Linked DNA regions of Homo sapiens: regions 2, 3, 4, 5, 6 and 7 are each linked to region 1. The links are contacts of gene promoters, found by promoter capture Hi-C in blood cells and fetal thymus (Javierre and others, 2016). All regions are on one chromosome and are shown on one strand. Each heading gives the region's core, a stretch centred on a gene start or on the middle of the fragment in contact. The rest is flanking DNA. Distances are from core to core; before and after follow the strand shown. Region 1 holds the start of MYH14 (myosin heavy chain 14). Region 2 holds the start of KLK11 (kallikrein related peptidase 11). Region 3 holds the start of KLK8 (kallikrein related peptidase 8). Region 4 holds the start of KLK6 (kallikrein related peptidase 6). Region 5 holds the start of KLK2 (kallikrein related peptidase 2). Region 6 holds the start of KLK3 (kallikrein related peptidase 3). Region 7 holds the start of CLEC11A (C-type lectin domain containing 11A).

What was found. The method cuts DNA at HindIII sites, captures the fragments that hold promoters and counts their contacts. A CHiCAGO score of 5 or more calls a contact.
Region 2: a contact is called between the fragment with the promoter of KLK11 here and the fragment with the promoter of MYH14 in region 1, in 10 of 17 cell types (total B cells, naive CD8 T cells, total CD8 T cells and 7 more). The highest score is 11.2, in total B cells.
Region 3: the fragment with the promoter of KLK8 here is called in contact with the fragment with the promoter of MYH14 in region 1 in 1 of 17 cell types (naive CD4 T cells); the score reaches 5.7 in naive CD4 T cells.
Region 4: a contact is called between the fragment with the promoter of KLK6 here and the fragment with the promoter of MYH14 in region 1, in 8 of 17 cell types (naive CD8 T cells, naive B cells, total CD4 T cells and 5 more). The highest score is 7.0, in naive CD8 T cells.
Region 5: the fragment with the promoter of KLK2 here is called in contact with the fragment with the promoter of MYH14 in region 1 in 10 of 17 cell types (naive CD8 T cells, total CD4 T cells, non-activated CD4 T cells and 7 more); the score reaches 12.7 in naive CD8 T cells.
Region 6: a contact is called between the fragment with the promoter of KLK3 here and the fragment with the promoter of MYH14 in region 1, in 3 of 17 cell types (naive B cells, naive CD4 T cells and total B cells). The highest score is 6.2, in naive B cells.
Region 7: a contact is called between the fragment with the promoter of CLEC11A here and the fragment with the promoter of MYH14 in region 1, in 7 of 17 cell types (total CD8 T cells, total B cells, naive B cells and 4 more). The highest score is 8.0, in total CD8 T cells.

Annotation. Positions count from the first base shown.
Region 1 is chr19:50,201,058-50,205,368 of GRCh38, reverse strand. It overlaps MYH14 (myosin heavy chain 14), which reads right to left and starts at 1,747. Exons shown (of 43, transcript NM_001145809.2): 1 at 1,698-1,747. It overlaps LOC124904746 (a long non-coding RNA gene), which reads left to right and starts at 1,393. Exons shown (of 3, transcript XR_007067298.1): 1 at 1,393-1,556. RefSeq lists a silencer at 1-25. The HindIII fragment of the contact is 8,559 bases long and covers 1-2,401 here.
Region 2 is chr19:51,024,696-51,029,006 of GRCh38, reverse strand. It overlaps KLK11 (kallikrein related peptidase 11), which reads left to right and starts at 2,391. Exons shown (of 6, transcript NM_001136032.3): 1 at 2,391-2,469; 2 at 3,341-3,415; 3 at 4,213-4,311. The coding sequence starts at 3,376. RefSeq lists enhancers at 1,080-1,636, 2,196-2,753, 2,754-3,312. The HindIII fragment of the contact is 2,362 bases long and covers 756-3,117 here.
Region 3 is chr19:50,999,885-51,004,195 of GRCh38, reverse strand. KLK8 (kallikrein related peptidase 8) reads left to right here and starts at 2,592. Exons shown (of 6, transcript NM_007196.4): 1 at 2,592-2,664; 2 at 3,021-3,098; 3 at 3,613-3,772; 4 at 3,938-4,200. The coding sequence starts at 3,029. KLK9 (kallikrein related peptidase 9) reads left to right here. Exons shown (of 5, transcript NM_012315.2): 4 at 356-492; 5 at 936-1,688. The coding sequence ends at 1,085. The HindIII fragment of the contact is 2,221 bases long and covers 2,056-4,276 here.
Region 4 is chr19:50,968,336-50,972,646 of GRCh38, reverse strand. KLK6 (kallikrein related peptidase 6) reads left to right here and starts at 3,056. Exons shown (of 7, transcript NM_002774.4): 1 at 3,056-3,157; 2 at 4,056-4,106. It overlaps LOC105372442 (a long non-coding RNA gene), which reads right to left. Exons shown (of 7, transcript XR_007067308.1): 4 at 4,294-4,311. The HindIII fragment of the contact is 4,765 bases long and covers 168-4,311 here.
Region 5 is chr19:50,871,417-50,875,727 of GRCh38, reverse strand. It overlaps KLK2 (kallikrein related peptidase 2), which reads right to left and starts at 2,289. Exons shown (of 5, transcript NM_005551.5): 1 at 2,209-2,289; 2 at 848-1,007. The coding sequence starts at 2,254. RefSeq lists a cis regulatory region at 2,451-2,465, an enhancer at 2,451-2,465 and promoters at 2,264-2,617, 2,264-2,889, 2,264-4,311. The HindIII fragment of the contact is 10,018 bases long and covers 1-4,311 here.
Region 6 is chr19:50,852,716-50,857,026 of GRCh38, reverse strand. KLK3 (kallikrein related peptidase 3) reads right to left here and starts at 2,112. Exons shown (of 5, transcript NM_001648.2): 1 at 2,026-2,112; 2 at 628-787. The coding sequence starts at 2,071. RefSeq lists cis regulatory regions at 2,138-2,201, 2,146-2,270, enhancers at 2,264-2,286, 2,479-2,513 and promoters at 2,101-2,436, 2,101-2,652, 2,075-2,734, 2,101-4,311. The HindIII fragment of the contact is 5,758 bases long and covers 2,106-4,311 here.
Region 7 is chr19:50,721,071-50,725,381 of GRCh38, reverse strand. It overlaps CLEC11A (C-type lectin domain containing 11A), which reads right to left and starts at 2,018. Exons shown (of 4, transcript NM_002975.3): 1 at 1,710-2,018; 2 at 1,291-1,477; 3 at 781-972; 4 at 1-360. The coding sequence starts at 1,856. RefSeq lists silencers at 450-509, 550-669. The HindIII fragment of the contact is 4,317 bases long and covers 1-3,503 here.

The DNA of each region.
Region 1 (4,311 bases), core at 498-2,997:
TCTGACGGGGGCCGGGGGAAGGCGGGGGTTGAGCCTGTTGCCAGGTGGGCGGCGGCGGCGGCGGCGCCAGGGGCTCCTCCCCCTTATGGAGGGCAAAGGTCGAGGGCCCGCCGCGGAGAAGGCTGAGGATTCCCGGGATTCAAACCCCGCTGGAGCTTCCTGGGCCTCAGCTTTCCCTGCTGTGCATTGCGGCCAGTGAAATTAATAAAACGACGTTCAGAAAGTTCCCCAGCCCAGTGCTTCATCATTAATCTCCCTGAGCCTCAGTTTCCCAACTGCGGGAAGGGAACAACAAAATCTATAGACAGTAAGAGTACCAAAGAAGAGGACAATGGTATTCTGTCCTGAGCTTCAGTCTCGGGAGTGAAATAAAGACTACATGGTGATAAGAGTACCTACTATGTGTCGGGTATTTTCTCCTCTTAGAACAGCTCTTTGAGATCATAAAATGATTTAAAAAAAAAAAAAGAGGGAGAGACAGGGTCTCTCTCTGTTGCCCAGCTTGGAGTGCAATGCCACGATCATGGCTCACTGCAGCCTTGACCTCCTGGGCTCAACCGATCCTCCCTGCTCAGCCTCCCGAGTAGCTGGGACAGCAGGGTCACGCCACCACGCCCGGCTAACTCTTTTACTTTTTGTAGAGACGAAGTCTCGCTGTGTTGCCCAAGCTGGTCTCGAACTCCTGGGCTCAAGCGATTCTTTCGCTTCCACCTCCCAAAGTGCTGGGATTACAGGCCTGAGCCACTGCGCCCGGCCTAGAATAACCTCAACAACCAATGACATAGGGGTGATCAGCATGTCCATTTCTCTGATGTGGAAACTGAGGCAGGAAGGGTCAAAGTAAGGCACTCAAGATCACACAGCGTAAGAGGGAGGTCTGGAATTCAAGCCTATACCGTTTTCTGCCATTCTAAAGGAGGGGGTCTGGAAAGAACTTGTAGCAGGTCCCTAAAGACATGAATTTCTGCGTCCCAGTTGGTGATTACTACCAACCTGCTTCCCCATCTATGCCACAGGGACCACCGCTTTCCTTAGGGGACTCCTGTGGGACTGAAAAGGTTAAAGGACCCAGCACACAGTTGGTCTCTGGAGTGTTCTTCTCCACCAGGTCCCCCTGCAGTCACCAATTCGGCCCAGTCTCAGCCTTCCCCTCTCTGTATAATGGGTACAATATAACTCACCTCGAGTCAACACGATAAGGAAAGGAAATTATTTAGTTATAAAAAATAAAAGCGTCCAAGTACATCATAGGTTCTCAAATATGTCCTTCCCTACCCCTCCGCCTCTTCCAGTCACGACCCCTCTCTCTGGCCTCCGATTCTGACACGTGAGAACAGAGACATGTCATGCTGGGGGCGGGGGACTGGAGGCGATGACTCAGGTATTAAAGCGGCCGAGGTTCCAAAGACAGCCTCAGTTTCCCCTTCTGCGGAACAGGCCCGGGGCTGACAACGAGGACCCCGACCGGGCCTCGCACACGGCGGCAACTGGAGTTGGGGGAGTGTAGACGTCCCGCCCCCCCACCTCCCTCGCCGCCGTCCCGCTGCGCGCCCAAGGTGAGTGTCCGCGTCACCTCCCCGCCGTCCCCGGCCGCCTGCCCGGGCTCCCGGGCCCCGATCGCAGCCCCCAGGCTCCAGCTTCCCCTGGCTCAGTCCCGTTCCGCCGCCCCCGGAGGGCTGCCGGCCCCGGGCACTCACCGGCTTCCAGGGCCGTCCCGAGGCTTCGGCCTGGGGAGAAAGAGGGGCGTGTCCGCCAGGACAGCCCCGCCCCCAAGAGAGCAGCAGAGGCCAATCGGCGCCCGCTGCGGCAAGCTACGGCCCCGCCCCTGGGGGACGGGAGCCGCCAATCAAAAAGAGCGGCTGGCGGGCTGGGCCAATCAGAAGTTGTCGAAGGGTGCCAGCCGTGGGAAAAGAACGCGGCCCGGGCGCGGAGCTAGGCGGCGCGGTCGGGGGTGGAAGCCGAGGCCTGATGGGCACGGGGCGCCACCAATAGCGAGGCGCGGGGGGCGGCCGGGGGCGGGAGGCCCAAGGGGCCAGGGTGAATGGGCCGCTTTGTGCGCAAGGCATGAATGGGGGCCTTTGTAAGGGCCGGCGTGGGGGGGCCGACCGAAGGCCGGAATGCCTGGGTCCCCCGGGACCCGGCGGGCAGGAGAGACAGGAGACAGAATTCACTTTTGTCGAACGTAGACCATGTACCAGGCACCCTCCCAGGCTCTCACCCACCGGGGAGGTGTGGGCCGTGATACTATCGGAATAACAATGATCGTTTATCAAGCACTTCGATGTAGACCGGGAGCTGTGCTAAGCGCCTTACCTGCATGATCTCATTTAATCCTTACAACGAAGCCCTTGAAATTGGTGCTATTAAGATCTTCATCTTCTAGATGAGGTAACCCCAAGCTTAGAAAGAGGGTGTTAATTGCAGAAAGTCACAGAGCTGGCCGATGGCAGAGCAAGGACTCAGATCCAACCAGAAGTTGTGCTTTTAACCGCCATGCTATGCCCAAACGTGGTAATGATTCCCCATTTACAATTTACAGATGGGAAAACTGAGGCTCAGGAGAGCCAAAAGACTTCCCAAGGTTGGAAGGGTGCCGTGGCTCACACCTGTAATCCCAACACTTTGGGAGGCCAGGGTGGGAGGATCACTTGAGCCCAGGAGGTCAAGACCAGCCTGGGCAACATAGGCCCCATCTCTATTTAAAAGGAAAATAAAAAGAGCCAAGGGCACAAAGGAATGGCTCCACTGAACCCAAGGAGGCCTGCCAGCTTGGCTCGGCTGCTCAGCAGCTGTGTGGGCTCAGGCCAGTTGCTGGACTTTTTTGAGATTCCATTTATTTCTGCACTCGTAAAATGGGAGTGATGGACTGTCTGCCTTCACCCTTGCTCTCCCTACAGTCTACTCTATTCAGATGGGGCCTTTCCTCTGTTCAGAGCCTTCCATGGCTCCCATTTCACTCAGTAAAAGTCTAAGAACTCACCATGGCCAATGAGGTCCTGCGGGATGTGGCTGGCCCTTTTGCTCTCTCTGATCTCACCCCCAGGCCCTCCCCTTCATACTGCTCCAGCTACACTGGCTCAATTTCTCAAACCAGGAGGCCTGGTGCTGCCCCAAGGCCTTTGCATTCTCTGTTGGGTCCACCAGGAATGCTCTTCCCCAGGTTTTGCATGACAACCTCTCTCCCACATCATCCGTTCTGCTCCAATATCACCTCTTCCAAGAGGCCTTTCCTGGCCATCCTATATAAGACAGTTCCTCTCATCACTCTCTCTCGTTTAACCCCGCTTTGCTTTTTCTCATAGCACTGGGAGTGTTTGCTAATTTATCTGTTTATCATCTGTCTCCTCACTAGAATTTAAGTCCCACGAGGACAAAGATCTTTATTTTGTTCAGTGCCGAATCCTCAGTGCCTGGCACACAGTAGGTGTTTAATAAGTGTTTGTTGAGTAAATGGTAATGAGTGCTTGTATTGAGTGGATTAAGTGAATTAGTGCCTACAAAGCTCTTAGTACAGTCCTGGCACCAGGGAAAAGGCTGAATAAGAAAGTACTGGCCAGGAGCGGTGGCTCACGCCTCTAATTCCAGCACTTTGGGAAGCTGAGGCAGGCAGATCACTTGAAGTCAGGAGTTCGAGAGCAGCCTGGCCAACATGGTGAAACCCCGTCTCTACTAAAAATACAAAAATTATCCAGGCATAGTGGCCCACGCCTGTAATCCCAGCTTTTCGGGAGGCTGAGGCAGGAGAATCACTGGAACCCAGGAGGCGGAGGTTGCAGTGAGCGGAGATAGCACCACTGCACTCCAGCCTGGGTGGCAGAGTGATTCCATCTCAAAAAAAAAAGAAAGAAAAGAAAAAGAAAATACTGATTATCATGACTATTGCCATTTATTGTCCTACAAACAGCATGCAGGAGAGAAACTATATACATACGAAGTCTAGCGTACGAGCAAGAAGCCAAAGAAATATGAAAGGAAATGTTGGGAGATAAGAGATGGGCAGAAAAGAGACAAGAGAAGCTGGAGTTGGGTGCTGAGGGCAGACACAGATTCAAGCATCCAACTCCCAATGCACTTGCTCAGCAACAGCAAAGGTGAATCACAGGACCATCCCTGTGGTCATAGTGTCAAGATTGCCATGGCTTTGAGATTGCCACAGCCACCTTCCACTTCTTTGCAGATGGGGAAACAACATCCTGGGGAGAAAAGGACCTTTCTGAGAGTACTCGCAGTGATAACACAGCTCACAGTTGTGAGGTCTGATTGTGTGCTGGAAACATGACTGTCATTATGTCAGTGCATCCTCATGCCAGC
Region 2 (4,311 bases), core at 1,142-3,641, 820 kb before region 1:
AGCTCAAATAAGGCCAGGCACAGTGGCTCACACCTGTAATCCCATCACTTTGGGAAGCTGAGGCAGGTGGATCACCTGAGGTCAGGAACTCGGGACCAGCCTGGTCAACATAGTGAAACCCCAACTCTACTAAAAATGCAAAAATTAGCCAGGCATGGTGGCGCATGCCTGTAATCCCAGCTACTCAGGAGGCTGAGACAGGAGAATAGCATGAACCCGTGAGGCAGAGGCTGCAGCGAGCCGAGATTGAACCATTACACTCCAGCCTGGGCGACAGAGCGAGACTCCATCTCAAAAACAAACAAACAAAAAACCCAGTGCTCAAATAGGATGAGGGTCTTCCCTGAGTAGTTACTCAGAAATGGAGTAGAAAAAGTTACTTTTAATAATATAGGCCGGGTGCAGTGGCCCACGCCTGTAATCCCAGCACTTTGGGAGGCCGAGGTGGGAGGATGGCTTGAGCTCAGATTTCGAGATCAGCCTGGCAACACAGTGAAATCTTGTCACTACAAAAACACAAAAAATTAGCTGGGTGTGGTGGTGCGTGCCTGTAGTCCCAGCTACTTGGGAAGCTGAGGTGGGAGGATCACCCGAGCCGGGGAGGTGGAGGCTGCAAAGAGCCGAGATCATGCCACTGCACTCCAGCCTGGGCAATAAAGTGAGACCTTGTCTCAAAAACAAAAACCCAGCAATATAAATAAGACACATGTTTCTTCATCTGGCATAATAGAAATAGTGCCCAGAGCTTATAAGCTTTTCAAGAGTCCACAAAAGACCCGAAAAAGAAAAAGAAAATTGTTAGCTCCAAAATACCAGATGAAAGCTGCAAAGTCAACATTTATGACCATTTAATCCAATGTCCATAAAACGTAGCATTCTTTCCACTAGCCAACTGCAGTTTACTTTCTTGTAATGAAGCATACATTGTATCTTTAATGTGGGACGTGGCTTTGTTCTAATAAGACGAAGGGTGGAGTGCAGGCTTGGAAAGCAGGAGAGCTCAGCCTACGTCTTTAATCCTCCTGCCCACCCCTTGGATTCTGTCTCCACTGGGACTCAAGAGGTGAGGAGAGACCATCTCCCCAAATGCACTGAAGGGAAACTGGAGGAGGGAGGGAGTGAGGGGTGATCATACCAGCGGAGGCACATTTGCTGAGCCCCCCCGCAGTCTGCTCTTTCCAAGTGGACCCTCCTGGAAGCCTGATCCCAACCTCCCCTGCAAGCAGGTCTGTCACCCCCATCTCTCAGATGAAGAAACTGAGCCTTGCAGGGGTGGAGTCCCTTGTCCCCACGTCATAAGGGTAGTCATAGTAGTAGGAAGAGGAAGCACCTAGGTTTGAGGCCAGGGCTGGCTGCTGTCAGAACCTAGGCCCTCCCCTGCCTTGCTCCACACCTGGTCAGGGGAGAGAGGGGAGGAAAGCCAAGGGAAGGGACCTAACTGAAAACAAACAAGCTGGGAGAAGCAGGAATCTGCGCTCGGGTTCCGCAGATGCAGAGGTTGAGGTGGCTGCGGGACTGGAAGTCATCGGGCAGAGGTCTCACAGCAGCCAGTAAGTGAACAGCTGGACTCGGGCTGCCTGGGCGGCAGGGAGAAGCGGGCAGGGGAAGGGTCAGCAGAGGAGCGAGGCCCCAGAGGAGCCCTGGGGTGGAGCACAGCCAAGGGCTCTGTTCCCTTTCCTGGACTCGGCTTCCACAGGCCCTGACCTGCCTCCCCCACCCTCCGGTCCTGCCCCTGTGCCTGGCAGCAGCCCCACCTGTGTGACATCCCAGCACACCCCCCCTCTCCTTGCAAAGGAGAAGGGAGCGGCCTAGGGGAGGCCAGGGGCCCACCTGGGCTGGGGCTGTGGAGAGGGAGTGGCTGGGACGGGAGGAAAAAGAGAGACGGAGATTAGATGGAAGAAGAGGGATTTCAAGACAAATTGCCAGAGATGCAGTCAGAGAGACTGACTGAGAGACACAAAGATAGAAGGAATTAGAGAAAGGGCCACACAGAGCCAGACAGAGAGAGAAGAGTGGAGATGGAGACAGGGACGAGGACAGAGAAAGGCAGACAGACACATAGGGACAGAAAGAGAAAAATCACACAAAGTCAGAATTACTGAATGACAGGGAATGACACATAGAACGAGACACAGATTCAGAGACTCAGGGCAGGGAAAGGAAGGCTGCAGACAGACAGACAGACAGAGGGAGGCTGAGACACAGGGAGAAGAGGGGCTTGGAGAGGTGGCACAGGCAGGCAGCCAGTGCCTCAGAGGCCTCCGGGGAGGGCCCTCACACACACCCCGCCCCGGGGCATTAAGGCAGGGCTTGGAGGCCAGTCATCCTGGGCCCGCCCAGGGCCGCCCCCCTGCCAGCCCGCCTGCCTGGTGCCTGGCACCTGGCGCTCCAACCCAGCCTACCTGCTGTAGCTGCCGCCACTGCCGTCTCCGCCGCCACTGGGCCCCCAGAGCCCCAGCCCCAGAGCCTGTGAGTCCAGGAGGAAAGGGAAGCTGCCCCTCCCCGTCCAGGTGTCAGCCCTCCCCAAGGACACCTGTCCCACTCGGGCACCCATTTCTCCCTCTGCTCTGTCCTTCTCTGCTTGGGTGGGGGTTCCTGGCCTCTCTCTACACCTCTCACCTCCGATGGCTGTCCGCAGCCTCAGTTACCTCTAATCTCCATGGCTTCAGCTGCTGAGCTGGCCCTCTGCTCCCACCCCCGCTGGCCAGGGCAGCGGAGGGCACTGGCCCTCCCCTCGACCAGCCCCGCCCAGCTTTGCTTGGCTGTCCTTCAAAAGGGCAGGGGTTTGGCGGACAGGGCTTCAGCAAGCCGGGTGATGGGGGTCCCAGACATTGTCTGGGGCTGAGCCCCCTACTCCCCTCCAGCAGACCTCAAAGGCTCCATATCGCTCTGCTGCGAAGACAATGAAAAAGGGGTGGCTACGGAACGGTGTCTGGTTCCCCTTGTCCTTCCACCCCAAGCTGCTGGGGCCTGGCCAGCTCTCAAGGCAAGAAGGAAAACATCCTCTGACATGTGCCGGGGAGGTCCCATGGCTGACTTGAACAGGGCCGAACCATGGCTTGACAGCTCAAAGCCCCTCCCAACGACTTCCACATGGTTCTTGGTATCTCGGAAGCTTCTAGCTGTGACCAGGCCCTCTCCAAGGCCACCCTAGACACCTAAGATATATTTTAAGTGTTTGGAGATCTGAGTGCTGTGAGAAACAGGGGATTTCCCCAACCTTGTTTCTCCCAAGTGGGGAGCGGGAGCAGGTGAGGGAGAGAGGAGAGGGCATGAGCCAGCCCCCCCCTCCCGATTTCCCCGTAAAGTGATGCGGCCCCATGTCCCTCCTTGTTCCCAGAGGAACCTGGGGCCCGCTCCTCCCCCCTCCAGGCCATGAGGATTCTGCAGTTAATCCTGCTTGCTCTGGCAACAGGTACGCAGGGGATGGGGGCAGGGCAGGATCCTCCCTCTTGAATCTCTGGGATCCCCTAACCCTCTGTGTCTGGACAGTGACAGGGCTGATTCCAAATTACAGAACAACCCATAAGGCACCTGAACTGGAGCAGTGGTCATGAGGGCCTGGATGCCCTTCTAGATAATCCCTTTAAATGCCAAAGGAGGAGAGGTCAAGGGGGTCGTAAAGGGTCCCGTGGAGGGGCTGAGGAAGCTGGAGTTGGGGGAGCAGTCACTCAAAGCGCCCAGGACAGGGGCTACTGACCAACCAGTATGGAAGTATTTCCTTTTTTTTTTTTCCCAGAGACAAAGTCTTGCTCTATTGTCCAGGCTGGAGTGCCGTGGTGCCAACACGGCTCACTGCAGTCTTGACTTCCCGGGCTTAAGTGATCCTTAAGCCATCTCAGCTTCCCCGGTAGCTGGGACCACAGGCACCTGCCACCAAGCCAGGCTAATTGTTTAATTGTTTGTAGAGATGGGGGAGGAGGTCTCACTATGTTTGCCTAGGCTGATCTAGAACTCCTGGGCTCAAGTAATCCTCCCACCTTAGCCTCTCAAAGTGCTGGGATTACAGGCATGAGCCACTGCATTTGACCTTATGGAAGTATTTTCATCCTTTAATACCCGACCCCAGCATCCAGGGCAACCCAGAGGGACACCAGACCAGGGCCCAGACCACCCACTCTCTTTCTCTCCTCCCCACCCCCATTTCTGGGAGTCCTCCTGGTCTACCACCTCTCCTTCCTGAGCCCCTTCTTTTGCTCTCACCCCCTCCAGGGCTTGTAGGGGGAGAGACCAGGATCATCAAGGGGTTCGAGTGCAAGCCTCACTCCCAGCCCTGGCAGGCAGCCCTGTTCGAGAAGACGCGGCTACTCT
Region 3 (4,311 bases), core at 1,343-3,842, 800 kb before region 1:
GCTAATTTTTGTATATTTAGCAGAGATGGGGTTTCACCATGTTGGCTGGGCTGGTCTCAAACTCCTGACCTCAAGCGATCCGCCGGCCTCGGCCTCCAAAACACTGGGATTACAGGCATGAGCCACGGTGCCCGGCCAGCCTCTCTCTCTACTTGGCCCTCTTCCTCCTTGTCTCCATTTGTTTCTCTTGTGTGCTATGACTGTCTGTCTGTCACTGTCTCTTGTCTCTATCTTTGAGAGTCCTAAATGTGGCTCCATTGGTCCTTTGGAAAAGCTGCAGGGAGGACTCAGGGCAGTGGGGTGCTGAGTGTGTTGGAGACAGTTGCAGATCCTTGACAGTTCTCTTCCCTGACAGCGCTGTTTCCAGTCACACTGCAGTGTGCCAACATCAGCATCCTGGAGAACAAACTCTGTCACTGGGCATACCCTGGACACATCTCGGACAGCATGCTCTGTGCGGGCCTGTGGGAGGGGGGCCGAGGTTCCTGCCAGGTGAGACCTTACTCTGGGGAAAATGAGGCTGTCCTGCCAAGTTTTCTAGGATTTAGGGGAGCAGAGGGGTCGGCCCCCAGCCTTCCTGGGTCAAAATGAGAAGGAGACTGGGATACCTGGTTCCTGGGAGAGGACGGGACCAGGGCCTGGACTCCTTAGTGTAAAAGAGAAAAGGTCTGGAGGTCCAGACTTCTGGATCTACAGGAGGAGTGGGCTGGGCGTCCAGAGTCTGAGTCCTCGGGGAGGAGGAGGTTAGGTCCTGCGGGGAGGTGGGCCCTCTGAGCTTTTACTCCTGGGTCTGAGGAAGAAGAGGCTGGAGATGGAGGACTCTCGGATGTTGGAGGAGGAAGGGGCTGGGGCCTTTCTGGGAGGGAGGAAGTGGCCCGTGTAATTGTCATGAACAGAGTGGCCTAACAGTTCCTCTGCCCTTCTCTCGCGTACAGGGTGACTCTGGGGGCCCCCTGGTTTGCAATGGAACCTTGGCAGGCGTGGTGTCTGGGGGTGCTGAGCCCTGCTCCAGACCCCGGCGCCCCGCAGTCTACACCAGCGTATGCCACTACCTTGACTGGATCCAAGAAATCATGGAGAACTGAGCCCGCGCGCCACGGGGGCACCTTGGAAGACCAAGAGAGGCCGAAGGGCACGGGGTAGGGGGTTCTCGTAGGGTCCCAGCCTCAATGGTTCCCGCCCTGGACCTCCAGCTGCCCTGACTCCCCTCTGGACACTAAGACTCCGCCCCTGAGGCTCCGCCCCCTCACGAGGTCAAGCAAGACACAGTCGCGCCCCCTCGGAACGGAGCAGGGACACGCCCTTCAGAGCCCGTCTCTATGACGTCACCGACAGCCATCACCTCCTTCTTGGAACAGCACAGCCTGTGGCTCCGCCCCAAGGAACCACTTACACAAAATAGCTCCGCCCCTCGGAACTTTGCCCAGTGGGACTTCCCCTCGGGACTCCACCCCTTGTGGCCCCGCCTCCTTCACCAGAGATCTCGCCCCTCGTGATGTCAGGGGCGCAGTAGCTCCGCCCACGTGGAGCTCGGGCGGTGTAGAGCTCAGCCCCTTGTGGCCCCGTCCTGGGCGTGTGCTGGGTTTGAATCCTGGCGGAGACCTGGGGGGAAATTGAGGGAGGGTCTGGATACCTTTAGAGCCAATGCAACGGATGATTTTTCAGTAAACGCGGGAAACCTCACCTTCTTTCTGCCTGAGCTGTGAGATGAGTGGAGAGCAAACGGGTGGGCGGTGAAGGGCAGATGAGGGAACCGGTACCGCCTTGCAACTCCCCCTTAAACCCCTAGTAAGTTTTGCCTAAAGTCTCTGTCCATCAGCCCTATTGCAGCAAGACTCCTGGGTTCTGCTTGGGTTGGTCTTGCCGCCTCCAGGGGAAGGGGAAACCAGGTCACAGTGCCTCCCAAACCTGCCCTCCCAGATCCCGGACCTCTCAGGGGACAGCGGGCGGGGCCTGATCCACCCTCTGGTTTCTGACCCTAGAAGACCTGCCTTTCTTCGGTTCCCGGTTACTGGCAGCAGCCCCCTCCTCCCACAAAAGATCAGGTTCCAAGCTTCTCCTTTTAAAAGTACTTAGAATTCAGCCCCCAGCTCTCTCCTCCCTCACACCCAGGAATCCAGGCCCCTAGCCCCTCCTCCCTCAGACCCAGGAGTCCTGGCCCCTAGCAGCCCCCTCCTCCCTCAGACCCAGGAGTCTGGGCCCCCAGCCCCTCCTCGGTCAGACCTAAATCCCAGGTCCCAGTCCCTCCTCCCTTAGATTTAGGAGTCCAGGCCCCCAGCCTCTCCTCCCTCAGACCCAGGAATCCAGGCCCCCAGCCTCCTCCCCTCTCAGAACTAAAATCTTGGCCCCCAGCCCTTTATGTTTCAGATCGTAGAGTCTCAGCACCGAGTCCCTCCTCTCCCTAGCCTCAGGAGTCTGAGATTCCAGCCCCTCCTCCCTCAAGATTTCACGTTCAATCCCCTCCGCCCCTTCTCACTCACACCCAGTGTTCCAGTTCCCAGAAGCTCCCCAGGCTCTAGTGCAGGAGGAGAAGGAGGAGGAGCAGGAGGTGGAGATTCCCAGTTAAAAGGCTCCAGAATCGTGTACCAGGCAGAGAACTGAAGTACTGGGGCCTCCTCCACTGGGTCCGAATCAGTAGGTGACCCCGCCCCTGGATTCTGGAAGGTGAGGTGCAGAGGTACTCAGATACAGACATCAGGCCCCGGACCCTCCTTCTCCAGATTCCAGGACCCCAGCCTCAGATGCCCTTCTCTGTCGAGATCCAGCAGTCTGGACCCCGGCTTCCTCCTCTCCCTAATTTAGGAGTCCCAGCTCCCAGCTCCCTGTCCCCTCAGACCCAGACATCGAGGACTCCCCCCTCCCTTGGAATGTAGGAATCCAGTCCCCCAGCCTCCTCCTTCCTCCAGAGAAGCCCAGAACAGCCCCAGATACTCTCGGCTGCCTCCCCAGTGCCCAAATCCAGAACTGGGAGCTCAGGCTCCTCCTTCCTGTTTACCGGCCCCGCCCTCTCCATTTCCCAGACCTCACCATGGGACGCCCCCGACCTCGTGCGGCCAAGACGTGGATGTTCCTGCTCTTGCTGGGGGGAGCCTGGGCAGGTGAGGAGGGTTGCGGAGGCCTCCGGAGGGGAGGGATCTGAAGGCAGCAGTGGCGCTGGGGAGTCTGTGGGAATGCCGCGGGGGTTATGTGGGTGCGTGTGCACGGATGTGAAGAGTGCGATACGGTGCAGGAGCCTCTGTGGGCTTTCCTCAGGGTGGACAGAGGCAAGAAACAGGTAGCAGCAGGTAGGAGTAGGTTCCGTGATGCTGTAAATTGTCTGAATAGCTACAGCCTTTGGGGGCTGCTTGCTTGGGGGCATAGATTCACCTGGGAGTACTCGGGGCCTGTAGACTCATGTGGAAGCATGTGGGGGCATTCTTGGGTGTGTGACTCTTGTATGATGACACATGGACTGAAATGAGTGTCCCCGTGTGGCAGCGTGTGGAAGCCTGGACCTCCTCACTAAGTTGTATGCGGAGAACTTGCCGTGTGTCCATTTGAACCCACAGTGGCCTTCCCAGCCCTCGCACTGCCCCAGAGGGTGGCGATCCAACCCTCTCCCTCCTGCTGCAGGACACTCCAGGGCACAGGAGGACAAGGTGCTGGGGGGTCATGAGTGCCAACCCCATTCGCAGCCTTGGCAGGCGGCCTTGTTCCAGGGCCAGCAACTACTCTGTGGCGGTGTCCTTGTAGGTGGCAACTGGGTCCTTACAGCTGCCCACTGTAAAAAACCGTGAGTGGATGATGGGGGCAGAGGTCAGCTGGGGCTTAAGGAAAGAGGGGGCTGGGGTTTCGACTCAGGAAGGAGAGAGCTGAGGACTGGACTCCTGGGTCTGAAGGAGGAGGGGGCTGGGGGCAATACCCCTGCCTGGGTCCCAAACTATCCCCACCATTACAGGAAATACACAGTACGCCTGGGAGACCACAGCCTACAGAATAAAGATGGCCCAGAGCAAGAAATACCTGTGGTTCAGTCCATCCCACACCCCTGCTACAACAGCAGCGATGTGGAGGACCACAACCATGATCTGATGCTTCTTCAACTGCGTGACCAGGCATCCCTGGGGTCCAAAGTGAAGCCCATCAGCCTGGCAGATCATTGCACCCAGCCTGGCCAGAAGTGCACCGTCTCAGGCTGGGGCACTGTCACCAGTCCCCGAGGTAGTGGGCTTGTCCACTAATGGGAGGGAGAGGAGGAGCTGGTTGGCCCAGTGGAACCCAAGCTATTGGCAAAGCTTGGTCCCCCAGAGGGAGACAAAGAAGGGAAAGTGA
Region 4 (4,311 bases), core at 1,807-4,306, 770 kb before region 1:
CTCGGGAGGCTGAGGCTGGAGAATTGCTTGAACCCAGCAGGCGAAGAGAGATCGCGCCACATCACTCCAGCCTGGGCGACAGAGCGAGACTCCATCTCAAGAAGAAGAGGGAATAGCATTCAGTGAAGGGCCAGAGGCCAGAGGGCATGGCATGGGTCAGGGAAGCTTGATGTGTTCTAGAAAGCTGGAGCCACACGGAGACGTAGACATAGCTGTGTCATGCAGTGTGAGGGCCACTCACCACTCAGGACTCCTTTTAAAAAAATTTTTGACAGGGTCTGGCTCTGTCACACTGAAGTGCAGTGGCGTGATTATGGCTTACTGCAACCTGGGCCTCCAGGCTCAAGCAACTATCCCACCTCAGCCTTCTGCATAGCTGGGACCACAGATGTGTGCCACCACACCTAGGTAATTTTTTTCTTTTCTTTTTTTTGTTTTTTTTTTTAGAGATAGGGTCTCACTATATTGTCCAGGCTGGTCTCGAACTCCTAGGCTCAAGTGATCTTCCCACCTCTGCCTCCCAAAGTGCTTGGATTACAGGCATGAGCCACCTTGCCCAGCCATGTCAGGCTGGGGTGCAGTGGTATAGTCACAGCTCACTGCAGGCTCGACCTCCCAGGCTCAGCAATTCTCCCGCCTCAGCCTCCGGAGTAGCTGGGACTACAAGTGTGCACCACCACATCTGGCTAATTTTTTTACTTTTTGCAGAGATGGTTTCTCACTATGTTGCCCAGGCTGGTCATGAACTTCCGGACTCAAGCTATCTACCCACCTTGGCCTCTCAAAGTGCTGGGATTACAGACATGAGCCACCATGCCTGGCCTTAAATTTATTTTTTAATTGACAAGTAAAAATTGTATATATTTCTGGTGTATAACATCATGTTTGATATATGTATGTATATGTTGTGGAATGGCTAAACCAAGCTATTTAACATATGCATTATTTTACACCCTTATTTTTTGTGGTAAGGACACTTAAAAAATCTTCTGACTTAAAAAAAAAAGTATGGTGATTGGAAAATGTAAATGTGCATGCGTGCTTGGCATCACATTTCATTGGCCAGGACTTCCCTGGATGCTAAAGGTCCTCAAATGCCAGGCTGGGGGGCTGGGACTTGGTCCCAAGGGAGATGGGGACCCAGGGCACGTCTGTGAGAGGAGGGGCAAGGTCAGCACAAGGCACAGGAAGGTCTCTCTGGGGCAAGGGATACAGAGAACAGAGGGATCCTGGTCCAGGTGGGAGAGGTGCAGCTCTGAGTTGGGGTTGAGGGTGTGGGTACAGAGAGGAAGGGACCCCCCAGAGAGAGGAGGCAGAGGGATAGGGCCTGGTCACTGGGTTGTGCAACATCAGACTTGCTGTCTGTGAAGATAGCACGTCCTGAGAAGAAGGTGCTGAGGTCAGTGGGGACCAAATGTGAGAGGGAGCACCCGGAGAGTATACTGAATACCGAAGTAGTCTTCATCCCTGGAGTGATGGGGGGTGCACAATGCAAGATGACAATTAGATTCAATGCAAGACAAAGAAAAGGGTTGGCTGGGAACAGTGGCTCATGCCTATGGTCCCAGCTCCTGGGAAGACTGAGGCGGGAGGGTCGCTTGAGCCCAGGAGGGTTGAGGCTGCCACGAGCAAGGATCGTGCCACTGCACTCCAGCCTAGGCGACAGAACAAGACCTTGTCTCAAAAGAAAAAAGAACTTTTTTTTTTAAGTTACCTGTAGTGCCCAGCCCAAGCAGGTGCTGAGCCAGACTTCATTCCTATCATTGTCCTTATTACGCAGTGACTTCCCCCTCCTCATTTCTCTCCACTCTGCCACGCACACACCCTCACCCTCCAGCCCATACCAACCACCCCAACCACTGCCTGTGGTTTCCCATGTGCACCCAGGCCAGGCATTTTCACGGCCTTTCCTCCTGACCTACGCCTGGCTCAGCTTTCTAGGCCCAAGTTCAAAGACACCTCCCTAAATCTTCCCAGATCCCTCTGCTACTGCCCAGCACCACCATCTTATCACAGCCCCACGTCGTTCCCAAGTGCTCTCCGATTTCTGCTTAACTCCATGCCTCTCGCTGTGTGTCCGCATCTCATCAATAAGTCCTCAAGTCCTCTTCCATCCTGCTAGCTTCCTCATCGCTCGGGAATCATCCCCGCTACTTCCTGGGGAAACTGACTCCCTTCTGGGCACACACAGTGCTACCCCCGGGGAAATCTAAGAAGAGACCCAGGAGAAGATAAGCACGGAGAGTCAGAGAATCAAGGGGAAAGAAAGGGAGAGAGGCCGGGCACAGTGGCTCACACCTGTAATCCAGCACTTTGGGAGGCCAAGGTGGGTGGATCACCTGAGGTCAGGAGTTTGAGACCAGCCTGGCCAACATGGTGAAACCTCTTCCCTACTAAAAATACAAAAAACATTTAGCCGGGCGTGGTGGTGGGTGCCTGTAATCCCAGCTACTTGGGAAGCTGAGGCAGGAGAACTGCTTGAACTCAGGAGGCGGAGGTTGCAGTGAACTGAGATCACACCACTGCACTCCAGCCTGAGTGACAGAGCAAGACTCCGTCAAAAAAAAAGAAAGAAAGAAAGAAAAGAAGGAAGGAAAGAAAGAAGGAAGGAAGGAAGGGAGGAAGGGAGAGAGGAAGGGAGAGAGGAAGGGAGAGAGAGAAAAAAAGAGGGAGAGAGACACAAATACAGAGACTGAGATGGGAGAGAGAGAGAGATGGAAGCTCCCTCCCCTCCATGGCCAGGGAGACAGATGGAGCAAGAGACCTCAGGGGTGGGCAGACTTGGAGGAGAAGGACCAGGAGGATGTGGAGTGCCGAAATCTCCAGTCAGGGCCAGGTGGGCAGTCAGAGACTGCAAAGGAGGACTGTCAGACAGGGACAAAAGGAAGCCATTGATGTAACCGCCCTCCCGCCTGCCCGCCGGAAGAGAGGTTGAGGCCGGAGCTGCTGGGAGCATGGCACTGGGGTGCTGGGGGCGGACAAAGCCCGATTGTTCCTGGGCCCTTTCCCCATCGCGCCTGGGCCTGCTCCCCAGCCCGGGGCAGGGGCGGGGGCCAGTGTGGTGACACACGCTGTAGCTGTCTCCCCGGCTGGCTGGCTCGCTCTCTCCTGGGGACACAGAGGTCGGCAGGCAGCACACAGAGGGACCTACGGGCAGGTGTGTGAGTCACCCCAACCGCACTGAACCTGGGCAGGCTGCTTCCCAGTGCCGGAGGGCTCTAGAGCCCGGAGTGAGGGCCTGCAGGTCCCTGGGTGGCACAGAGAGTGCTGGGGGTGCAGGGAGGCCTGGGGCACCATCTGCTTGCCCCAGAGGCCGGAATTTGTCTTCAGACACTTTCTTTCTCCAAAACCCGGAGGTCTAAGGACTGAGCCGACTAGAACTTCCTCTGCCTCAGATTCAGGCCCCAGCCCCTCCTCCCTCAGACCCAGGAGTTTAGGTCCTAGCCCCTCCTCCCTCAGACCCAGGAGTCCAAGTTCCCACCTCCTCCCTCAGACTCAGGAGTCCAGGCCCCCAGCCCCTCCTCCCTCAGACCCAGGAGTCCAAGTTCTCACCTCCTCCCTCAGACCCAGGAGTCCAGGCCCCAAGCCCCTCCTCCCTCAGACGCAAGGGTCCAGGCCCCCAGCCCCTCCTCCCTCAGACTCAGGAGTCCAGGCCCCCAAGCCCCTCCTCCCTCAGACCCAGGAGTCCAGGCCCTCACTGCACTCAGGGACCAGTGCTCCCTTCCCTGGAGGCCTGGTCAGGGGTCACCAAGAGCAGAGCGTGGGGGCGGGAGGAATGTGTGTGGGAGGCCTGGGTAAGGAGGAAAAGGGTGTAGCCAGTCTCCTGGCTCAGGGACCTGAGAGACAGGGGTTAAAAGGACGTTCCAGAAGCATCTGGGGACAGAACCAGCCTCTTCCAGGGAGGCCTGGGAGCTGGGGGTGTGTGTCTGGCAGTCCCTGCAGCCCTGGGCTCTGCGGCCCCTGCGTCCTCCGCTTGGCTCTGCCACTGCATCTGAGTGTCTTCTCTCCTCACGGCTCCCCGCATTTCTAACTCTTTCTGCCTCCTCGTCTCAAAGCTGTTCCTTCCCCCGACTCAAGAATCCCCGGAGCCCGGAGGCCTGCAGCAGGTGAGATCACAGACATCACAGAACCTGCCGGGTGGGCGGGGTGGGTGGCCATTGCGCACAGAGCCAGGCTCCGAGGAAAACTCCCATACAGAGGAAGAACGCTAGGGCCCCCTAGGGTAACCCTCTCCTGTCGACAGGAAGGCAAATCAGTGCCCAAGAAAGTAGAAAGATCTAATCAGAATCTCACCATGGGTTACTGGACCAG
Region 5 (4,311 bases), core at 1,040-3,539, 670 kb before region 1:
TCCCGGGTTCAAGCGATTCTCCTGCCTCAGCCTCCCTAGTAATTGGGATTACAGGCGCGCAGCACCACGCCTGGCTACTTTTTGTATTTTTAGTAGAGACGGGGTTTTGCCATGTTGGCCAGGCTGGTTTCAAACTCCTGACCTCAGATGATCCACCCACCTCGGCCTCCCAAAGTGCTGGGATTACAGGCGTGGGCCACCGTGCCCGGCCACCTTCCCCTCCTTTCTTGTTTCCCCTTCTCCTTCCTCCCTCCTCAATTGTGCACCCAGCTACAGCTGAAACCAGCCCTCCCTGTGTCTCCCCAGGGTGGAGGGATGTCCTGCAGAGAGTGCTGTGCAATGACAGGCACCCCCTCACATGCACACACATTGAGCTTAAAGTCCTTCCTTTTTCTGGGTGCTCCCCACCCACCCTCACGGGGTGTGTTCAGTAGTGATGAGGAAGGGCTGAGGCAGAGACCCAGAGAGAAAGACAGGCAAAGAGATGCAGGGTGAGACACACGGTGACAGAGATGGCCACAGAGAGACCCAGAGACAGAGACGGGGGAGACACAGACACAGGGAGACAGAAAAGAGAGAGGGACATAGAGACCAAAACACAGTCATACAGACACAACCAGAGCCAGATACCAAGAGACACAGCGAGATCAGACACAGAGAGAAACCCAGGCAGCCATGGGGAGAGTGGTCCAGCCCCAGCTCTGCCTCCGGGTGCGACCTGGGCCAGGACCTTCCCTCTCTCCTTTAGTCTGAAGCCTCACCTGAGAAGTGACCCTGGGGGAAGCATCCCGCTGTTATTCCTGTGGGACACAGCCATTCCCTCCCCAGATCCCAGGGTCCTACTTACTTCTTTAGGCAATGGGCAGCTGTGAGCACCCACTGGGGGTGCACCAGGACACCCCCACAGTGTGCCCATCCATGACTGTACACAGCCACCTGCCAGGGTTGGGAATGCTTCTCACACTCCCAGCCTCCCACAATCCGAGACTGGATGAGGGGCACGGCACCTGCGGAGGGGGTGCTGGGTCAGGGGGATCAGACCCAAAAGAATTGGATAGGGGAGGGAGCTGAGCTGTGGGTTTGAAGAGACATGGGGGCAGAGGACCAGGACTGGGAGTCCAGGACACAAGCAAGGGGTCCTGGGAGGGCTGGCAATTCTGTAGCTATTCCCTGCGTTAGCGGGTTGGTGGCTGGACCAGGTCGGGAGGCTTCATGCTCTGAGAACGGAGCTGACCCCAGAGATCAGAGTAGGGGACATGGGAAACATCTGAAGCAGGCATCGGGTTGGGGGTTGGGTCATTTGGAGTGATTTGGGGTCTTACACTGGGAGAAGGGACACTGTGGTGGCAGCTGTGGGTTCTAAGAGAATAAGAGGTTCCAGAAACCAAGGATAAGTGCCCAGTGGAGAGGTTTAGTTGCTGGGAGAGGAAGGTTTTGGATGGTTTACCATGTCCAAGGTTAAGCAAACAGTTCTGCCTGAGTTGTTTCTTGCTTTGTTTTGTTTTGTTTTGTTTTTGAGGTTTTGAAAAGGGTGCGGATTTAGGGAATCAGAGAACTGGCCGTTGTGGTTGGGGGTGCTCGTGTTTTTCCCATGGAAAAAGCTAGCCATTGAATGACGGGTCTGGGGCAAAGAGTCAGGGAAGGAGGAGTTCTGAAAGTCCCAGTGCCAGACTCAGGGTGGGAGGCAGCATTTGTTGTCTCAGGCCAGATAGCCTCGGGGGGAAGAAGGAAGTGTCTGGTGGAATCTGGGTTTCCTGGGACAGGGTTGGGGAGCCAGGTGTCAAGGTCCAGGGGACAGGGTTGAATGCTCACAGCTGAATAGGAAAAGTCAGTAGACTGTGGTAGGACTGAGGGGCTCAGGAGGCAGCCCAGTGATAGGGTCCAAGGAACCAGTGGCATGGAGAGAGGTCCTTGAAAGGTTTTGAACCCCATAAAGAGAAACACAGAGATGCCCAGGAACTTGCTCTTTAGTAAAGCAGCTGGGAGCAGGGATTTGGCTGGGCAATGGAGAGAAAGGTCTGAGGTAAGTGGGAGGGAGCGGGGACCTAGTGTGGGCATGAGGACTATTGCAATGTGGAAGAGTCAGGGGCACATTGTCTGGGCTGAACTGTGGGCTGAAGGGACGAGGCTGGGGCACTGGGTGGGAGGAAAAGGGCTTCAGCATAAGAGTCAGAACCCGCCCCCCTTCCTTTATCCCCCCAATCTCACCAGTGCACCCCACAGACAAGGCGATGGAGAGAACCAGGTCCCACATGCTGACACAGGTGTCCACGGCCAGGTGGTGAGTTTGGGGCTGGGGGGCCTCCCTGAGGAGCCCTATAAAGCCTTCATTCTCCAGGACCCCGCCCTTGCCCTGTTGGCACCTAGATGCTGACCAAGGCCCTCCCCATGCTGCTGGAGGCTGGACAACCCCCTCCCACACCCAGAGCTGTGGAAGGGGAGGGAGAGCCAGCACTTGCTGTTCCACACATACTAGATCAGTCTGGAGGCATTCCCACGGTGTGAGGTCAGATTGGGCAGGGCCTATGGATCATGGAGATGTGATCTAGGGAACAAAGCCAGAGAAGGCAGGCTCAGGATGAACAGCAACAGGGGTTGGGATGATCACTGATTCTTTTTTAAAAAAATTCTGAGACAGTCTCACTCTGTTTCCCAGGCTGGAGTGCAGCGGCGTGATCGCAGCTCCCTGTAGCCTTGAACTCCCAGACTCAACCGATTCTCCTGTCTCAGCCTCCAGGATAGCTGAGACCACAAGCATGCACCACCACATCCAGCTAATTTTTAATTTTTTTGTAGAGAGAGGGTCTGGCTATGTTGCCTAGGCTGGTCTCCAACTCCTGGGCTCAAGCCATCCTCCCACTTCGGTCTCCCAAAGTGATGAGATTACAGGCGTGAGCCACCACGGCCAGCCCCAATCATTGATTTTCAATACAAAGTCTCATGTGCCTAAGTCCCAAGTACTTCCTTTGCACCCCAAACCTAATATGCCCTGAAATATCAGAATGATCGGATTGTGAGACTTCCTGGTCCCTATACCCGTCTGAGCCCAGAAGCTGGACCTCCAACTTACCATGTTCCTGAAATAGAAGCGTTGGCATTCAGTACTCTCTGATTCTTGCACTTCCACACTCAGAAAATGGTTCCCCACATACATTTCTCCCTCATCATAAAACCTTGTGATACCACATATTGTCCAATCCAGAAATATGACTCTCCCAGACCAAGTTCCCTATTATTTCAAAATCCAATGTCCACTAAACAATATGGGGTTCCGGTGGCTCCTCACTCCTCATTCTCCATGCCTGTACAACGTACAGGTACAGCGGGGATTCCTGTTGACCTGCCCTCCTAGGTCAGAATTGTCCTCATGCAAAATCCAATGCCTCCTTCTCACTGAAATGTCTAGCTATCAGGAGCCAGGTTTATACACTCCAAGATTAAGCTGCAAGCCAGGCACGGTGAGTGGCTCATGCCAGCAATCCCAGTGCTTTGGGAGTCCAAGGCTGAAGAATCACTTGAAGTCAGAAGTTCAAGATCAGCCAGGGCAACAAAGTGAGACCCTTTCTCTACAAAAAAAAAAAAAAAATTTAATTAGCCAGGTGTGGTGGCAAGCACCTGTAGCCCCATCTACTCAGGAGGCTGAAGCAGGAGGATCCCTTAAGTCCAGGAGGTCAAGGGTTCAGTGAGCTATGATCACACCACTGCGCTCCAGCCTGAGTGACAGAGCAAAAGACCCAGACTGTGTCTCAAAAAAAAAAAAAAAAAAAAAAAGAATTAGGGTGGCATTGAGAAATCTCATTTTGGTGTCTCAGAAAAGAATCAAGAATAAGAGTCCTGGTGTTAACTCTTATTATAAGAGTCCACTGTTAACTCTATAAGATTTCTTTGATTTTGAAAAAAAAAATGTGATTTCATCTGTTCAATAAAACCAGAGCAGCTTACGCTGATCCAGACCCAGCTGTGTCTCAAGAATTTGACAAAATCTTCCCCCATTTCCAGCTGAATGACCAGATCAATTCCAAGTACAGTGAAGGAGACAGAAGTGGACATAGATAATCACAATTCAAGACCAGGATAGAGGGATATTCACAGCCAGTGGCCTGATTTCCCCCACACAACCACTCGTTCCCTGGAATGACCGTCTGAAAGGAAATTTGCCTCAGCTTGAATGAGAACCACCTGAATCCAGTGTCCCAAGCATATCCTCATCCCCATGATAACCTCAACCAAAACCTGACCCAAACCAATTTAACACAGCCCAATCCAACCACATCACCCACAAGCCCAACCCATCAACCCAACACAACTTAA
Region 6 (4,311 bases), core at 863-3,362, 650 kb before region 1:
CACGCCTGGCTAATTTTTTGTATTTTTAGTAGAGATGGGGTTTCACCAGTTGGCCAGGCTGGTCTCGAACTCCTGACCTCAGGTGATCTACCTGCCTTGGCCTCCCAAAGTGCTGGGATTACAGGTGTGAGCCACCGCGCCCAGCCAAAGCCCTTCCTTTTCTCAGGGTCCCCCCAGGCCCATCCCATGCGTGTGCTCAGTAGGGAGAAGGCACAGGTGAGACAGAGACCGAGAGACAGAGCCTGGCAGAGAGATACAGGGTGAGACACACTGGCTAGAGAGGGACCAGAGAAGGACAGAGAGAGGGGGAGATATGGAGACTGAAGACAGAGAAGAGAGGGAGAGAGAGAACAAAATAGTCACACGGAGAGACACAACCGAAGCCAGTTACCAAGAGACATAATGAAAGCGACACAAAGAGACATAGAGGAACACAGATGGAGACCCAGGCAGCCATGGGGAGGGTGGTCCAGCCCCAACCCTGCCTCCCCATGTGACCTGAACCAGAACTTTCCCTCTCTCCCCCAGTCCCAAGGCTGGCCTTAGAGGTTATCCTGGGGAAAATGCCCAGCTGTTATTCCTCTGGGACACAGACACCTGCTCCCCAGACCCCAGGCCCCTACTCACTTCCTGATGCAGTGGGCAGCTGTGAGGACCCACTGGGGGTGCACCAGAACACCGCCGCAGACTGCCCTGCCACGAGAGGCCACAAGCACCTGCCAGGGTTGGGAATGCTTCTCGCACTCCCAGCCTCCCACAATCCGAGACAGGATGAGGGGTGCAGCACCTGCAGAGGGGGTGCTAGATCAGGGGAATCAGGGTTGACAGGAGGAACTGGGGGACTCGGATAGGAGATGGATTTAGGATGTGGGTTTGAAAAGACACGGGGGCAGAGAACCAAGGCTGGGAGTCCTGGGACATGGGCAGGGGGAGCTGGGAAAGGCTGGGAATTCTGTCAATCTTCCCTAGGTTTGCAGGTTGGTGGCTGGTGCTGGTGGAGAGGCTTCATGCTCTGGGAGCAGAGTTGAACCCAGGGATCAGGGTAGGAGACACAAGACAGCGCCCAGACCATATCTTGAGTCTGGGGATTGGGTCCTTTGTGGTGATTTGGGGTCTTGGACTGGGAGAAGGGAAACTTGGTACAAGTTGTGGATTCTGAGGGGATAAGCGGTGCTAGGAACCAGGGATAAGTGCCTTATGGCGAGGTTCAGTTGCTGGAAGAGGAAGGTTTTGGAAAGTTTAGGAAGTCCCAGGTTGAGAAAACAGTTCTGGTCTGAGTTGGTTTTGTTTTATTTGTTTTTCTTTTTGTTTTTAGGTTTTGAAAAGGATGCAGATTTGGGGAATCAGAGAGCTGGCAGTTGTGGCTGGGGATGCTCATGTTTTTCCTAAGGAAAATGTGGGCCACTGAATGAAGAGTCTGGGGCTAAGAGTCAGGGAATGAGGAGTTCTCAGAGTCCCATTGCCAGACTGAGGGACCCATTTGTTGTCTCAGGCCAGATAGCCTGGCTAGGAAGAAGGAGGTGTCTGGTTGGCATCTGGGTATCCTAGGGCAAGATTGGGAGGCCAAGCATCAAGGTCTCTGGGATAGGGTTGGGCACTCACAGCTGAATGGGAAAAGTCAGTAGACTGTGATAGGATTGAGGGGCTCAGGAGGTGGACCAGTGATACGGTCCAAGGAACCAATGGCATTGAGAGAGGTCCTTGGAGGTTTTGAGCCCCACAAAGAGAAACACGGAGATGCCCAGGAACTTCCCCTTTAGTAAAGCAGCTGGGAGCAGGGAGCTGGCTGGGCAATGGGGAGAAAGTTCTGGGGTAAGTGGGAGGGAGCGGGGACCTGGTGTGGGAGTGAGGACTGTTGCAATATGGAGGGGCTGGGGGTATGGGCTTGGAGTGGGGCTGGGAGAGACAGAAAAGAGCCCAGCTCCCTGTCTGGGCTGGGGTGCTGGGTTGGGGGGGAAAGAGCCTCAGCTTGACAGTCAGGGCTGGCTCCCTCTCCTGCATCCCCCCAACCATGGCCCCTCTCACCAATCCACGTCACGGACAGGGTGAGGAAGACAACCGGGACCCACATGGTGACACAGCTCTCCGGGTGCAGGTGGTAAGCTTGGGGCTGGGGAGCCTCCCCCAGGAGCCCTATAAAACCTTCATTCCCCAGGACTCCGCCCCTGCCCTGCTGGCACCCAGAGGCTGACCAAGGCCCTCCCCATGCTGCTGGAGGCTGGACAACCCCCTCCCACACCCAGAGCTGTGGAAGGGGAGGGAGAGCTAGCACTTGCTGTTCTGCAATTACTAGATCACCCTGGATGCACCAGGCCCTGTAGCTCATGGAGACTTCATCTAGGGGACAAAGGCAGAGGAGACACGCCCAGGATGAAACAGAAACAGGGGGTGGGTACGATCCCCGATTCTTCATACAAAGCCTCACGTGCCTAGATCCTTTGCACTCCAAGACCCAGTGTGCCCTAAGACACCAGCACTCAGGAGATTGTGAGACTCCCTGATCCCTGCACCACTCTGAGACCAGAAACTAGAACTTTTATTCCTCATGCTCCTGAAATAGATGTCTTGGCATTTAGTACATTCTTTTCCTTGCACTCCCAACCCAGAATCCAGCTCCACAGATACATTGCTACTGTCATCATAAAAAGATCTTGTGGTCCACAGATCCTCTAGCCCAGAAATATGAGTCTCCCAAAGTTCCCTAGCATTTCAAAATCCAACGTGCAGCAAACAATGTGGAATTCCAATAACCCCCCACTCCTTGTTCTCCAGACCTGTGCACTCTATCTGTGCAACAGAGATGCCTGCTGACCTGCCCTCCCAGGTCAGAATCATCCTCATGCAAAATCCAATGCCCCTTCTCCAACAAAATATTTAGCCTTTAGGAGCCAGGTTTATGTACCTCAAGATTAAACGACAGGTCAGTCATGGTGGCTCACGCCTGTAATCCCAACACTTTCCGAGGCCAAGGTAGGAGGATCACTTGAAGCCAGGAGTTCAAGGCCAACCAGAGAAACAAAGCAAGATCCATCTCTACAAAAAAAAAAAAAAAATTTTTTTTTTTTGAGACAGAGTCTCACTCTGTCACCCAGGCTGGAGTGCAGTGGCGCAATCTCGGCTCATTGCAACCTCTGCCTTCTGGGTTCAAGTGATTCTCCTGCCTCAGCCTCCTCAGTAGCTGGGATTACAGGTGCCGTGTGCCACCACGCCCGGCTAATTTTTCTATTTTTTTTTTTTTTAGTAGAGACAGAGTTTCACCATGTTGGTCAGGCTGGTCTCAAACTCCTGACCTCGTGATCCACCCATCTCAGCCTCCCATGGTGTTGGGATTACAGGCGTGAGCCACTGTGCCCGGCCCCCCAAAAAATTTAAAAATTATCTGGATATGGTGGTGGACTACTGTAGTCTTAGCTATTGGGAGACCGAAGCAGGAGAATCTCTTAAGGCCAGGAGTTCAAGGCTACAGTGAGCTGTGATCACGCCATTGAACTCCAGCCTGGGAAATAGAATGAGACTGAAACCTCGATTTAAAAAAAAAAAAAAAAAGATTAAGGTGGCATGCAAAATCACAATTTGTAGTCTCAGAAGAGAATCGGGAACTCTTAAGAGCCCTGGTACCTCCACTGTTAACTCCGTAAGATTTCATCAATTTCCAAAAAGTTGGTTATTTCAGCTGTTCAATAAAACCAGAGTAGCTCACTTGATCCAGCCCGAGCTGTGTCTCAAGAATTTGACAAAAGTGGCTGGGCGCGGTGGCTGACGCCTGTAATCCCAGCACTTTGGGAGGCTGAGGCAGGTGGATCACCAGGTCAGGAGTTCGAGGCCAGCCTGGCAAACATTGGTGAAACCCCATCTCTACTAAAAATACAAAAATTAGCTGGGCATGGTGCTGCATGCCTGTAATCCCAGCAACTCAGGAGGCTGAGGCAGGAGAATCACTTGAACCTGGGAGGCAGAGGTTGCAGTGAGCCGAGACTGCGCCACTGCACTCCAGCCTGGGCAACAGAGTGAGACTCTGTCTCAAAAAAAAAAAAAAAAAAAAAAAGAATTTGATAAAATCTTCCCCTGTTTCTAGTTGAGTGATCAGGTAAACTCCAAGCACAGTGAGGGAGACAGAGGTGGATATAGATAATCACAATTTAAGACCATCTTAGAGCTGGAGTGGAAGGATATACTTAGCCAGTGGCCTGACCTCCCCTACACGTGAATTAAGGCTTCCCCGGATTCATCCTGGAAAGGAAGTTTGTCTCCACTCCAGTGAGAACCTCATGGATCCGGTGTCCCCAAGCATATCCTCAACTCATCCTCAAC
Region 7 (4,311 bases), core at 769-3,268, 520 kb before region 1:
AGTTCTCGAGCGTGCCACCGTTGGGCTGGTCCGGGCTGAGCGGATGCGGCGAGGCGCTGGGCTGGGCGCCGAGCTCGGGGCGGGGTGAGCGATGCCAGGCGAAGAAGGACACGCGCTGGCCGTTTTCGAAGAGGTAGAGGCCCTCGGCGCGCCGATCGTGCACGCCCAGCCACACGGGCCAGTTGTAGGGAGCGAGCGCCGCGCGCAGGTACCGAGTGAGCGCCTCCATCTGCTGGCGGTCTGCCGGCTGCGCCAGGCTCCCGCCCCGCGCCGTGCACCGCGCCTGCGCCGCCGCCTGAGCTTCGAAGTCGCGCGAGAGCAGGAAGCACTTGTGGCCCAGGCGCAGCCCCTTCAGGCAGCCTGTGGGCGGGGCCGGGTAGAGAAGGAGGCGGGGTCATGCATTCAGAGTCTGGAAGGGGGCGAGGACAAAACATCCGGGGGTGGAGGGAGGCGGGGCCAGGAACTCATGGGGAGGGCTGGGAGGAGGCGTGGTCAGAACCGCGGGAGCCAGGAGGTGGAGAGTCTGGTCCGCCAGGGGCGGGGCCAGGCGGTGGGAGCTGGACTGTAGGGGGCGTGGTGCTGCCCCAGTCGGGTCCGCGCGGGTCTGGAGTGCCCACCCGCTCCCTGCATTCAGCCTCCCAGCTCTCTAACCCCGTCCGCTAGCACACAGCAGCTCTCCCGAACTCTCCCGCCCCGGACACCTAGGGTCACCTTCTCAACCAGTCCCATTCCTGGCCCAGATAGTCTCATTTTTTTCCACCCCGCGCGCCGCGGACTCACCCTCCAAGCGGCCGTGCTCGCGCTCGGCGCGACCCTGCGCCTCCTGCAGGGCTTGCACGGCATCGCGGGTGTCGCCTGCCGCGTTCCGCAGCTGCCGCAGCCCCTGGGTCAGCTCGACCACGCGGGTGTCCAACGCGTGCAGACGGACGTGCAGCTGGTGCAGGCCTGCGTCCAGGCCGGCCAGGCGGCCCACTGCGGACAGACAGGGATCATGCTGGAGGGGGAGCCTGGAGATGCAGCGGGGGGCCTGAGGACCTGGAGAACTGGGATCTAGGGCTCCTGAGGGCGGGGTGGCGGTGGGGGGGGCACCCCGGACTCCTGGAAGGTAGGGTCGAGTGGCCCAGGCCTTTAGGAGGCATGGCCGTGGACCTGGGGCTCCTAGGGGTGTGGGGGCTCTGGGCTGGGCAATGGACAACTGAAAGGCCACTTGGCAGTGAACCGACCCTTCATTTTTGCGAAAGTGACCGCGGCGGCCTAGGAGTTTGGGGGTGAGGGCTTCTGGTTACTCACGGATGTAAGTGACGATGTCCTCAGGGGTGGGAGAGGGGCTGGGGCCGGAGGATGGGGTTGGCGTTGCTTCCTCCTCCTCTTCCTCCCCCTGGTCCTCCTCCATCTCCCAGTCCTCTTTTCCCTCAACAGTTCCGGCAGGATTCTCATCCCCCCTCCCAGCAGGCAGTCCTAGGGCTTCCTGCAGATGCTGGGGCAGGGGAGGGGTGGTGAGCCCCAGCCTGCCACCAAGATGCCCCATTCACCCCTTTCCAACTCATAACTCATTCTCTGCTGCCTGAGTCCTGTCTCTGAGCCCATCACCCTCCCACTCCTCTGAGACTATCCCAATCGCTCCTCATTGTCCATTTCCCTAACCTTGCAATACCCCCTCCCAGACCCACAGTTCACCACCCATAGCTCCCTGACACTCCAGAGCTCACCTTCAGCATCAGGGCCTCCCTCTCCCGCTCCTCCTCCTGGGCACCTCCCCAGCCTCCCTCCCACTCCCTCTCTGCTCCCCGAGCCCCATGGCCAAAGCCCAAGAGCTGGGGGACCACCAAAGCCCCCAAAAGCCAGGCTGCCTGCATTAAGCTGGACTCTTGGCACCCAAAGTTCCAGATGTCTGGATGTCTGGGGTGGGAGGGGTGGCCTCTGGGAACTGCCGAGTGCCCCTGCCCTGTGTGCAGGTCACTAGCCCCCAGGTTCCCGATTCTCCCAGCTTCTCTCTTCCTGTTCCTCTCCTCGTCTCTGTCCGGTCCGTTGGTCTCCTCTGCTTCTCTGTGTGTGTCTCTCCCCGCCCCTCTTGGCTCCCCGGAGGCCCTGCCTCTGTGGCCGGAAACCTCCAACGTTCCAAAGCCTAGATCCCGCCTTGGGTCTCCTCGCACACCCTCCTCTTTCCACTTTCCAGAGCTCGCTTCCGCCCTGCTCTTTCCTTCTGCTGTAGCCCAAAGATCAGATAATCAGGAAGAGGATGGAGCTGGCTCTCCAAGGAATCTTGGAAAACACAGGCCCCGGCCTCAGCCCAGGAACCCGCTCAGAACCATCTCGGCAGTGGTGGGATGCTGGGACCGAGCACTGCTCCCTTCTTCCCTGCCTGGCCATTCCTAAGGAGGGGCAGACCTCAGGGTCTCGCTGAGGTTGTTATTACCCTGTGGCCACCATCGCCTGCACACTCAATGGAGGAGACTCCAGGGCCCCTCCTGCCCCCTAGATTGCCCATCCTACCCTCCAAGCCCTTGTCTGGAGATCCAAGTGAGTGTGTGTGGGGGCAGGGTGACACATGTGAAGAGCACGCGTGTGACTGTGTGCATGACCCTGGAAGACGGGGCTCGGGGATTAATTGGCCACTTTACTAGAAGCCTCCTGCAGGCCAGGCTGTGGGCTGGGTGATGCTGGGGACTCCAGCTGCTTGCAGACCAGCAGCCAGATAGCTCCGGGGATGAGGGGGCTGGAGATGGGAGAGGGTGAGGAGTCTGGCGGAGCAGTCAGGGAAGGTTTCTCCAGGAGGTGAAATCGACAGACGCTAGGTTGTGTGCTCAAGGAGCTCTGAGCATTCAGCAAGCCACCTCATTTCAGCCTGGACCACTGCAGTCTCGCCCTCCCCCTCCTTCCTCCTGAGCCCCTCCAATCCCGGCTGCTTGCCGCAGCCAAAGCAATCCTTCCAAACCATAAATCAGATCACATCACTCCCCACTCCCCTGCTCCCCCACCTTCCCATCATAAGCAGGAGGGAAGCCAAGCCCGGGCCTCAGTCCTCAGCGCAGCCTACCATGCTGGGGGCTGGGAAGGAAGAACCCTTTGCACCTCTGCAGCCTCATCACCCCCATTCCCTTCACCCACCCCCAGCCTCCACCTTCCCTGGCCTCTTGGCTCATCCCCAAATACTAAGCTGATTACAACCTCAGAGCATTTGCACTAGCCCTTTCCTCCTTCTAGAAGCCTCTTTCCCCAGCTCCTTCTCATCATCGAGGTCTCAGCTCCAGGAGGTCTTCCCCAACCACCTTATCTATTCCGCAAGTTACTTTATTAAAATGCCCCATTTCATCTTTTTGGTATAATCAAGACTGGCATGATCTTGTTTGTTTATGTCTGTTCCCTGCCAATGAAAGCAGGGATTTTTATGCACTGATGCATCTCCTAGCACAAGGCCTACCTAGCACATAGTAGGTGTTCAATCAACCTGTTGAGTGGGCGAGAGGGTAGCCGTTCCTGGTGGGGTCAAAGGCCTGGAAGCTTCACCTCTTTGGTTTGCTGGCACCCAAGTTCCCAGGGTGGTGGTGGCAGGGTAGGTAGAGGTGGTGAGGGCAGTGGGAGAGAGGCTTGGAGGCAAGGAAGAACAATGCCATGCCATGCCCCTCTATGTCAGGCCCATGAGTCATGCAGGGCTTTTCCCGCCCAGGCCTGGCTGGTGGTGCCAACAAGCATGGGGCACACCAGCCAAGGATCACTGGGCCTGCTCTTCAAAGGAGGAGACCGAGGCTCTGAAACAGCATAGCCTGCTGGAGGTCACCAGTGTGGCGGCAGCTAGCCAAGGTTTCTGGCTCCAAGAGCAGGGCATCTGCCCTCGGCTGCCGGGAGCCCCAGGAGGGGCCTTGGAAATCAGTGCCTCCAGCCTTCCGTTTTCCAAGAAATCCTGGTACATCGAGGGCACTGTGACCTTGGGCAGACTGCTCCCTGCCTCAGAGCCTGGGCCTCTCAGGTGCCCATCGGGAACCTGGGGCCCCTCACCAGGAGCTACAGACCTCAAGAAATAATGCGTATGTGGGGAAAGGCCTTGTAAAGTGTGCAGGGGTGCACAGCCTCTCTGGCTGCTGGAGCCAACATGGGCAGCTGTGCTTTCCCCGGGCCCAGCTGCTCACCACCTGGGCTAGTGGGTACGCATCAAGATAGAGGCCTCCCCAGGCTGAGCAGGCACCTCCTCCAGCTCATACTCGGGTACCCCGGAGAGCCTGCAGCTGGAGGGGAACCCAGAAGCTGCCTAGAACTGCCCCCTGCAGGCCCTGGAGGTGCTGTTGGAGCTGGGAGAATGAGGAAGCCTGGGCT